Linked DNA regions of Homo sapiens: region 2 is linked to region 1. Evidence: promoter capture Hi-C in human tissues and cell types (Jung and others, 2019). All regions are on one chromosome and are shown on one strand. Each heading gives the region's core, a stretch centred on a gene start or on the middle of the fragment in contact. The rest is flanking DNA. Distances are from core to core; before and after follow the strand shown. Region 1 overlaps STARD9 (StAR related lipid transfer domain containing 9). Region 2 holds the start of EPB42 (erythrocyte membrane protein band 4.2).

Region 1 (4,185 bases), core at 366-2,865:
GAGTGCAACTCAAGGAAGGATCTCCCATTACTCCTTTGTAAGGAACTTCTACCTCTCTGGGAGCCACCTAACTCGTCAGTGGTTTGGGAATAATTATCCATTGGAGTCCTTGGGGCATCAACAGGGTCTGGGCTGGAGTCAAGCTTCTGGTGGCCTTCAACAGGGTGAGTTGAAGGGGCTGAGAGGGTCAAAGAGCCTGGGGAAAGACCCGGCTCTTGGGTGCTGGCACTAAGAGTGAGGATTGGGGAGGAGGCCCTGTCCACGAACAAAGCACTTGTGGGGCCCAGCTTCTTCTGGACCCTGGAGTCCCCAGGATACTCGGAAGTACTGGGAAAGAGCCCTGGGGAATGAGGGGAGCTGGGACTGGGACTGCTGACAACTAAGCAATATGACTCCTCTGGCTGGGAGCTGGGAGGCAGGAAAGCATCAGAAACTGAGGGGCTCACAGAAGGAAGATGCTGCCCAACGGGGGCTTTCTGAAACCTCAAGTGGGATGAGGGTATTGAAGGGCTCTGGGGCTTGTAGGGAGTGCTTTCTTCCTGAAGATAGAGGAGCTGAGCCATTTTCTGTGCTGTTTCCTCTGCCTCTCTCTTCTGAGGTACCCCTGGCACATCTCCCTCTTCTTGAGACACAGTCGAGGTATCTGAGCCTAGCCCTTCAAGGATCACATTGGCTCCCTGAGGTTCAGCCTCTGAAGTCTGGAGGCACAGGGTGGGTAAGGTGAGGTCAGTCTGGCTGCCCTCATCCACAGTGGTCTGAGTAGAGCCATCCATCATCAGGGCCTGTGGGGCTTTATCTGGGATGTCCCTCTTGGTGTTCTGCTCCCTTCTGGCCACATCTGGCTGGGAGAGACTCCCAAGCAGCTCTGAGGTACTGTGCAGGAGCTGTGAGAGGTGGAGAGACAGATTGTGCATGCTGGTCCATGAGGCCAGATCAAAGGCTGATACTGCACTGGCTTCAGGCTGAGCAAAGGAGATGTCAGTGCTGCTCCAGTGGCGCCTGCTGCCGAGGGTCTGTGTGCCCTGTTCGAATGTGTTCGTCCTGGTCTGTCCCACAGGGCAGCCTGCCTCTGATGGATACAGCAGCATAATCTCATCCACTGGACCTGCAGCACTTCCTTTGGCCAAGGGGGGCTTACTCCTCAGACAGTCTGCTTCACCAGAAGGGCCCCTGAACTGAGGCCTTCTGTCATGACCCGAAGTGGGGGCTACTCCTTCAGGGCTCGTCGGGATGTGGGGGTCTCCTAAGGCAATTGAAGAACTCCCTCGGAATACTTCCCAGGCCTCATTTGAACCCTGGGCATTCTCAGTGCTGCTGTGTGTGGTTGACAGATCACAAATATTGGCGTAAGTGCTGAGGTGGGAGTGGAAAGGGGAGTTCTGGTCTTCTAGGCCATTGTCCATGCTGGAGCACCGGGCCACATTTGATAGTGTCAGCCCCTGGGGCTTCTGGCTGCAGGAAACATCGACTGCACTGCCAGACATATACTGCTTCCAGCTGATACGTGCAGGCTCCTCCGGACGCCACGGCAGCGCATAGGGACTGATGTCACTGGAGCCAAAGTGCAGCATTCCTTTGTCCATCTGAGAGCACCAATTTTCTGGCCTAACCTGGACACCCAGTTTCTCTCGCTTTCCCTGTTGGGCTTGTTCCAAAGTACCAGACATCCAGCTGGTCGTGAAATCAGGGGTTGGCATGTGTGAGAGAGTGGAAGGCATTGGATAAGGAGGGGTGGCAGGCTTCAGGTGCCTGTGATCGGTAGTCCCATCATCCAAGCGAGATGAGGCTTTCTGATTGCTGTCCTCAGCCTGCAGAGATGTTCTTGCCACTGACTTTCCTGAGGAATAGCCCCTGAGATGTGGGTTCCACAATCTGTTAGGCCCCTGTGTATCTTCGTCTGTAGGGGAAGGAGGCTCCACACTCAAGTTCAGCTCCTGAAGAGAACGAGAAGAGCCGACAACTGAGAACTGTGGTGTGGGGGAGGACCTGGAGTGTTTGGGGCCAGAGAAGATTGTAGTCACAGGAAGTGAGCCCCTGTGGTTGGGTGCTGGCTGCTCTCTGCCAGTGTAGAGGTGGCCACTCCTCTGAGCAGCAGGCTGCGGTGTTTCATTTTGCCTCAAGGACACAGTGGCTGGGTCTTTGAAGCCCTGTGATAAAATCTTGGACACAGGAGGCTTGGCCACAGCCACCTCCTCTCTCCCAGCATCTAAAATCTGACAGCCATCTAAGCCATCTTCATCAGGAAGGGGATTCACACCCTGGGCGAAGCCTTCTCCACCACCTGAAGCCTGGTCTCTGTGCTGCTCTTCTTCCTGCCAGGGACTGTCTTCCTGGGGGCTGCAGGTATGTTTTAACCTTGCTACAAACTTGGCTTGGGAATCCAAGCGATTGTGATCCCTCAACTCAGTGGAAAATTGTGGCTTTTCCAAAAAACATCTAGTGGTATTTTCTAAACATTCATGCTGTGGCTCTACCACCAACTTGCTCTCAGCAGACCCTTCACTTAAATCCAGGGTGTGTGGTCCCTGAGTTGTTGCAGGTGGTTCTGGATTGGTTTGACACACCTGTGCATTCTGGTCACCTACAGAGCTGTCCCTAAACTGCCTCAGGGGCTCAGAGTACATGCCTGCAGGGAAAGAGGCAGCCTCAAGTTCTGTGCTTGCTTGCTTCTCAGCAACCTTTTTCTCAGGAACCCCTATTAACCCCACGCTTCCATCAGTAGCTGAGTGGCTGAAGGAACCTGTCCTCACGTCAGGAGCAGAAGGGGATCTGCAGCCTTGAGCTCGAGATAGGACAGCAGCCACAGTAGAAGGCTCACAAGTGCTGCTCTCTGTTAGCCTAAATTCCCTGTTAACATCTTTGGGCTCAAGGCCATGTGTCAAGTGCACATCAGGTCCCCTAGAGATCTCTCCTGTCTCATCCATTTCATAGGCCCTGGAAGGTACTACACAGGGTGGGTGGATAGTATGTGGGGCAGCCTTGAAAGGCTCCTTCCCTAGGTCACCATCTCTAAAACACAGTAAAGTAGAGGAATGGGAGGAATAAGCATGAGTAGCAACAGGTTGAGAACTGCATGGCTGTCGGCAAGGAAGAGTTCTGCTCTCTTTCCCTCTAGACGGGCTGAGAGTCCTGCTGCCTTCAGGGTTCCTTGAGAAGACAGGGCCATCTAAAGCTTCCCTTGGGTGTCTACATGGGGCTTCCTCCCCAATTCCCCCAGGATTTGCGCTTGGTCTTTGATCTGGCAGTGGAATTGGCCTGGAATGTTTGCTGCCAGCCCTGCAGACTTCTGTCAACCCAGACCCAACACTCTCCTTACACTGCACACACTGCTGTGTGGGAGCTTCCAGTGCAACCCTTGTCAGAGCTCCAGGCAGAATGGTATCTTGTTTGGGACTTGCCCTACCTTCTTCAAAGCCAGTAGAAGCCTCAGGGCATTGGACATGGTCTTGCTTAGGCCCTGAGGCACTTGTAGAATTCTGAACATCACAGGTCACAGACTGACTTTCAAAATGGGCTGTTTTTTCTCCCTGTGCAGTCACTAACAAATTATCTGAAACTTCTCCATATGTGGTGTCTAGAGTTCTGGGTTCCTGATGCTCTGGGCTGCTGTCCTGACTGCCAGGGGGTATGCCCTCTGCAGTCTCCTGCGGAACTGACTGACTTAGCTCATGCAGAGTCACTCTAGGATCATCATAAGGGGCCTGAGAAGGTAAGGCAGCCACTACCTTCTTTGATACTACCCTCCTGACCTCCTCCACAGGTGCTGAAGAACGAGGACTGTCTGGGGCCAAAGGATCAGCTGAGGAAGGTGTTCTGGTTGCATCTTTCTTTTTCTCTATGATTTCAGAAGAACTAGAGTGACATATAAATGGTTCACTTGCTCCCGCGAACTGCCTCAGTTCTCCAGTACGACGTTTCCTGTCTTGAGCAGGAGCAGCATGGGAGAAAGCCTGCACAGGATCCCATGGCTCTCTGTCAGTTTCCGTATTGGGCAGAGATTCAAAGCTGTCTGCAGACAGAGATGTGGCCTGGACTTTCCTCTCATCAGGTAACAGATCTATCTGCCCTGCTTCAGCAGATAGAGATGCCACATGAAATCCCGGTGCTTCACCCTCATTCCTGGTCTGGTCTGATGATGACTGGTCTATTTGTTTACACTGAGGCCTGCCAGCAACCCTTGAAGAA
Region 2 (4,287 bases), core at 1,415-3,914, 530 kb before region 1:
AAATTTGCACTCCCACTAGTATTATAAGAGAGCAACTATTTTCCTAAAACATCACCAACTCAAAATGTTGTCAAACTCTTTTATCTTTGCCAATCTAATAGGTGAAGAAAGAATGATATCTCAGGGTGTTTTTATTTTGCATTTTTATTAAATGAGGCTGAACATCTTTCCATGGAATTGATAGACATTTTTATTTCCTTTTCTGTGAATTGTCTATCATATCCTTTACTCATTTTTCTAATAGTTTGTTATTCTTTTCTTATTGATTTATAGGCATCTTTTATATTAAGGAGATTAATCCTTCGTGATATGAGTTTCAAATATTTTACCCAACTTGTTGCATATCTTGTTTTGTTTTGTTTTTGAGACGGATTCTCACTCTGTGGCCCAGGCTGGAGCACAGTGGCCCAGTTTCAGCTCACCGCAACCTCCAACCTCCCGGGTTCAAGCTATTCTCCTGCCTCAGCCTCCCAAGTAGCTGGGATTACAGGCACATGCCACCACGCTCAGCTAATTTTTTGTATTTTTAGTAGACATGGGGTTTCACCAAGTTGGCCAGGCTGGTCTCAAACTCCTGACCTCGTGATCCACCCGCCTCGGCCTCCCAAAGTTCTGGGATTACAGGTGTGAGCCACCGTGCCCCATCTGCATATCTTTTAACATTGTGAATATTTCCATTTAAAAATTTTTAAGGAATCAAATTTCTCAGTATTTTCTTTTTGTCTTCTGAGTTTTGCATAATATTTTTAAAGGTTTTCCCAAGTTAACTTAAGAAGAAGTGTCTCATTTTTTCTTCTATTACTTTAAGAATTTAATAAGAGTTTTGATCCATCTGAAATTTATTTTGATGTGTGGCATAAGATAGGAAGCCAACTGTATTTTGACAAGCTAGTTGTCCCAAAATCATTTACTGATAAATCCTTCATTTCCCCATGGATTTGAAGTGCCACATTTAGCATACATTTAATACATGTATTTTGATCTATGGACTTTTCAATTACAGTAATATCATATTATGTGTTCATATCTAGGAAGGCTGGTCACACTTTATTATTATCTTAGAAATTTCCTTTTGAACCTTAGAATCAGTTTACCTAGTTTCAAAAAACAATCTTGGTGTTTTTATTGGGAATGAATTAAACTTAAGATCAACTTGGGAAGAAATGACCGCTTTATAAAGTTGAGTTGTCCTACACAGGATGGTGATCTTCCTTTTTATCTGCTCAAGTCTTATTTGGTGTCCCTCCATACCGTTTCCAAGTGTTTTACTGACAGCACTTCACATTTCTTAAGTTTATTTCTAGAAATTTCACCTTTTGTTGTTGTTGCTATTATAGGTTGGGTCTTTAATTACAGTTTCTGACTTGTTATTGATTGCAGGTATGAAAACTATTGGCTTCTATACTTTTGGTATTAGCCAGCTCACTAAATTACCTTTTATAATCATTGTTAGTAGATTCAAGTTTTCCAGGTAAAAAATGACATCTTCAAATAATGAAAAATTAACTTCTTCATTTCTTATGAAGGATTTTTTTTTTTTTTTCTGAGATGGAGTCTTGCTCCATGCTGGCTGTGCAGTGGCACGATCTTGGCTCACTGCAACCTCAGCCTCCCAGGTTCAAGCAATTCTTCTGCCTTAGCCTCCTGAGTAGCTGGGAGTACAGGCGCCTGCCACCACGCCCAGCTAATTTTTGTATTTTTAGTAGAGAGAGGGTTTCACCATATTGGCCAGGCTGGTCTCGAACTCCTGACCTCAGGTGATCCGCCTGACTTGGCTTCCCAAAGTGCTGGGATTACAGGCATGAGCCACTGCGCTAGTGAAAGGCAGAAGTTTCATTTTTTTTTTTTTTTTTTTTTTTTACATAATAAGATCCTTCAAATGAGTTCAAAAGTTCAAAGTTTTAAAAGTATAAAAGAGTAAACAGCAGAAAGATAACCTTTCTACCCCACTGCCCAGATCCCCTCCCCACAGGCAACCAATATTTTTGGCAGTGTGTTTTATATCATTCTATAGACGTCTCATGTATATGCAGCAAGTACAGCTGCCCTGAAAGTGCTTCTGGTAACACAGTTTCACAAGCCCAGGTAGGGCCAAATATGAGATCCTTCTCTTGTCTCTTCAGGAACTAAAGAAAGAAAAATTGAAAAGACATAGGGCCTGAGTCCCAAGATAGTTCCCAACCTTCTCTGGTAGAGGGTCCCAGACCAGGTAGGCTTGGAAGAGTTGGGGCCCCAGCTTCTACTTTTAATACATTTATTTTTCACCAACAAATTCTACTTCCTTATCTTTTTCACACAGATAAATTGCAGATGCACGTGTTCTCTCTATTATCAAAACAGCCCATGAACATCTTGCAACTTGCAGCCCCTGTCACGTTTAGGGCCTGAGATTTGGAGTTGGATATGGGACTCCTGTTTGTGGCCTCCTCTCTTCCAGAGTCTTCCAGTGCAGTCCAGATAACATCTCTGAGAGTCTCTTGAGACCACTGAAGCAAGAGGCTTCAAGGTTTGTTCTAGGCTTCTCTAGTTGGCAGGTCTTCCCCATCCCACCCCCTCCCCCAGGGCTGCCAGGCGTATTCCTGCCTGGGCCTCCTGGCACAAGAGATAAAATGAACAGGGTTACTCCCAGTAACTGGTCCAGGAGATACCAGCAGAGAGGGAGTAGGAGAGAAGAAACATGTCAGGGTGCTCACAGGAGTAGTGGGGGGAGGTTTTGCTATTTCCAGATTCTTAAGCCAACAAAAGTGCCTTCATATTTTCTGTCTGGAAGACAGAAAGCCCAGAAGGAGCCCAGAAGCAACAGTTTGAGAGAGGCGCTTTCTGCGGCCAAGTGGATAAGAGGAGCGGCCTGCAACCATGGGACAGGGTGAGCCAAGCCAGCGCTCGACAGGGCTTGCTGGACTGTATGCAGCCCCCGCAGCATCACCTGTTTTCATTAAAGGAAGTGGGATGGATGGTAGGCGGGGAGATGGTGGTATAACTATGGTGGGGGAGGGGGTACTGGTGATAATGAGGTGGCTGTGGGGGGGGGGTGTGGTAGGTGGGTGCTGGTAGAGGTGATAGTGAGCTGGCTGTGGAGCGTGGTGTGATGATGGGTGCTGGTGGAGGCGGAGGCGGAGGTGATGGTGATGTTGCTGTGGGGTGGTTATGGGGTAGCATGTTGGGGTAAACTGGTCATGATAGTTGTATGATGGTGAGATGGTGATGGTGGTTAACATGGATTTATATTCTTATCCCAAGGTCATCATAGCATAAGTGTTCACAGCTTACTGATACAAATGAGAGACACCCTGGGTAGCATGAAGGTGTCACAGCTTCTACACCAAATGGGAGAGAAGGAGAGGAGGGAGTCAGGGAATCCACCTAAAAGGGGCAGAGGCAGACACAAAGCAAGAAACCAACACAGGTGGTCAGAGTCGCAGCACTCTTGGCAGGAATTATTATATCCTGGCCTGGGAATTGCCTGGCTGTTTTGTGTCCTGGGAGAAGCAAGCGGGTAGGCAGAGGGAAATGGTGCAGAGGTGTGGGGACAGTGGGGTGCAGCTGTGGTTCTGTTGCTATAGAAACTGCCTCACTCCCCTGCCCTGGTTGGTCTGGTGTGCGGAGGGCAACTGACGCTGAGACCAACAGCTGAGAAGGGAAGAAAAAGAACTCTGGGTGAATTAAGTCAATAATCTCAGCCACGTCTTGTGAAAATAGGGCAGACACCAATAAATTGTCCTTTTTTTTTTTTTTTTTAAACGGAGTCTCTCTCTGTCACCAGGCTAGAGTTCAGTGGCGCAATCTCGGCTCACTGCAACCTCCGCCTCCTGGGTTCAAGTGATTCTCCTGCCTCAGCCTTCTGAGTAGCTGGGACTACAGGCACCCACCACCATGCCCGGCTAATTTTTTGTATTTTTAGTAGAGACGGAGTTTCACCTTGTTGGCCAGGATGGTCTCGATCTCTTGACCTCGTGATCCTCCGCCTCGGCCTCCCAAAGTTCTGGGATTACAGGCGTGAGCCACTGCGCCTGGCCAAATCGTTCTTTTTATTCTGTAGAGACCAGACAAATTAAAATCTACTCAATCAGAGAAACACAAAGATATCAGGAGATTGTTTAGTCTAGTCCCAAACCAGAGGATGCCCCTGGGCACTAAATTCTTTCCAGGCAGTGGGTGGCAGAGGGCCCAGTAGCCACCAGATGAGAATCACTGAGTATGAACTCATGACATGCTGCAGTGGCTGGAGCTGGCTTGTGCTGACTTGCAAGAGCCAATTGCTAAATTTTGAGGAACCTTGTGAACCAG

The links. The method cuts DNA at HindIII sites, captures the fragments that hold promoters and counts their contacts. A contact is called where the count stands out against the background at its distance.
Region 2: a contact is called between the fragment with the promoter of EPB42 here and a fragment that was not itself captured in region 1, in 1 of the 25 tissues and cell types used here (lymphoblastoid cells).

The regions. Positions count from the first base shown.
Region 1 is chr15:42,689,336-42,693,520 of GRCh38, reverse strand. It overlaps STARD9 (StAR related lipid transfer domain containing 9), which reads right to left. Exons shown (of 33, transcript NM_020759.3): 23 at 1-4,185. Among named protein-coding and RNA genes, the nearest start is that of CDAN1, 46 kb to the left of the region's middle. The HindIII fragment of the contact is 5,901 bases long and covers 1-4,185 here.
Region 2 is chr15:43,219,395-43,223,681 of GRCh38, reverse strand. EPB42 (erythrocyte membrane protein band 4.2) reads left to right here and starts at 2,664. Exons shown (of 13, transcript NM_001114134.2): 1 at 2,664-2,866. The coding sequence starts at 2,857. The HindIII fragment of the contact is 9,374 bases long and covers 1-4,287 here.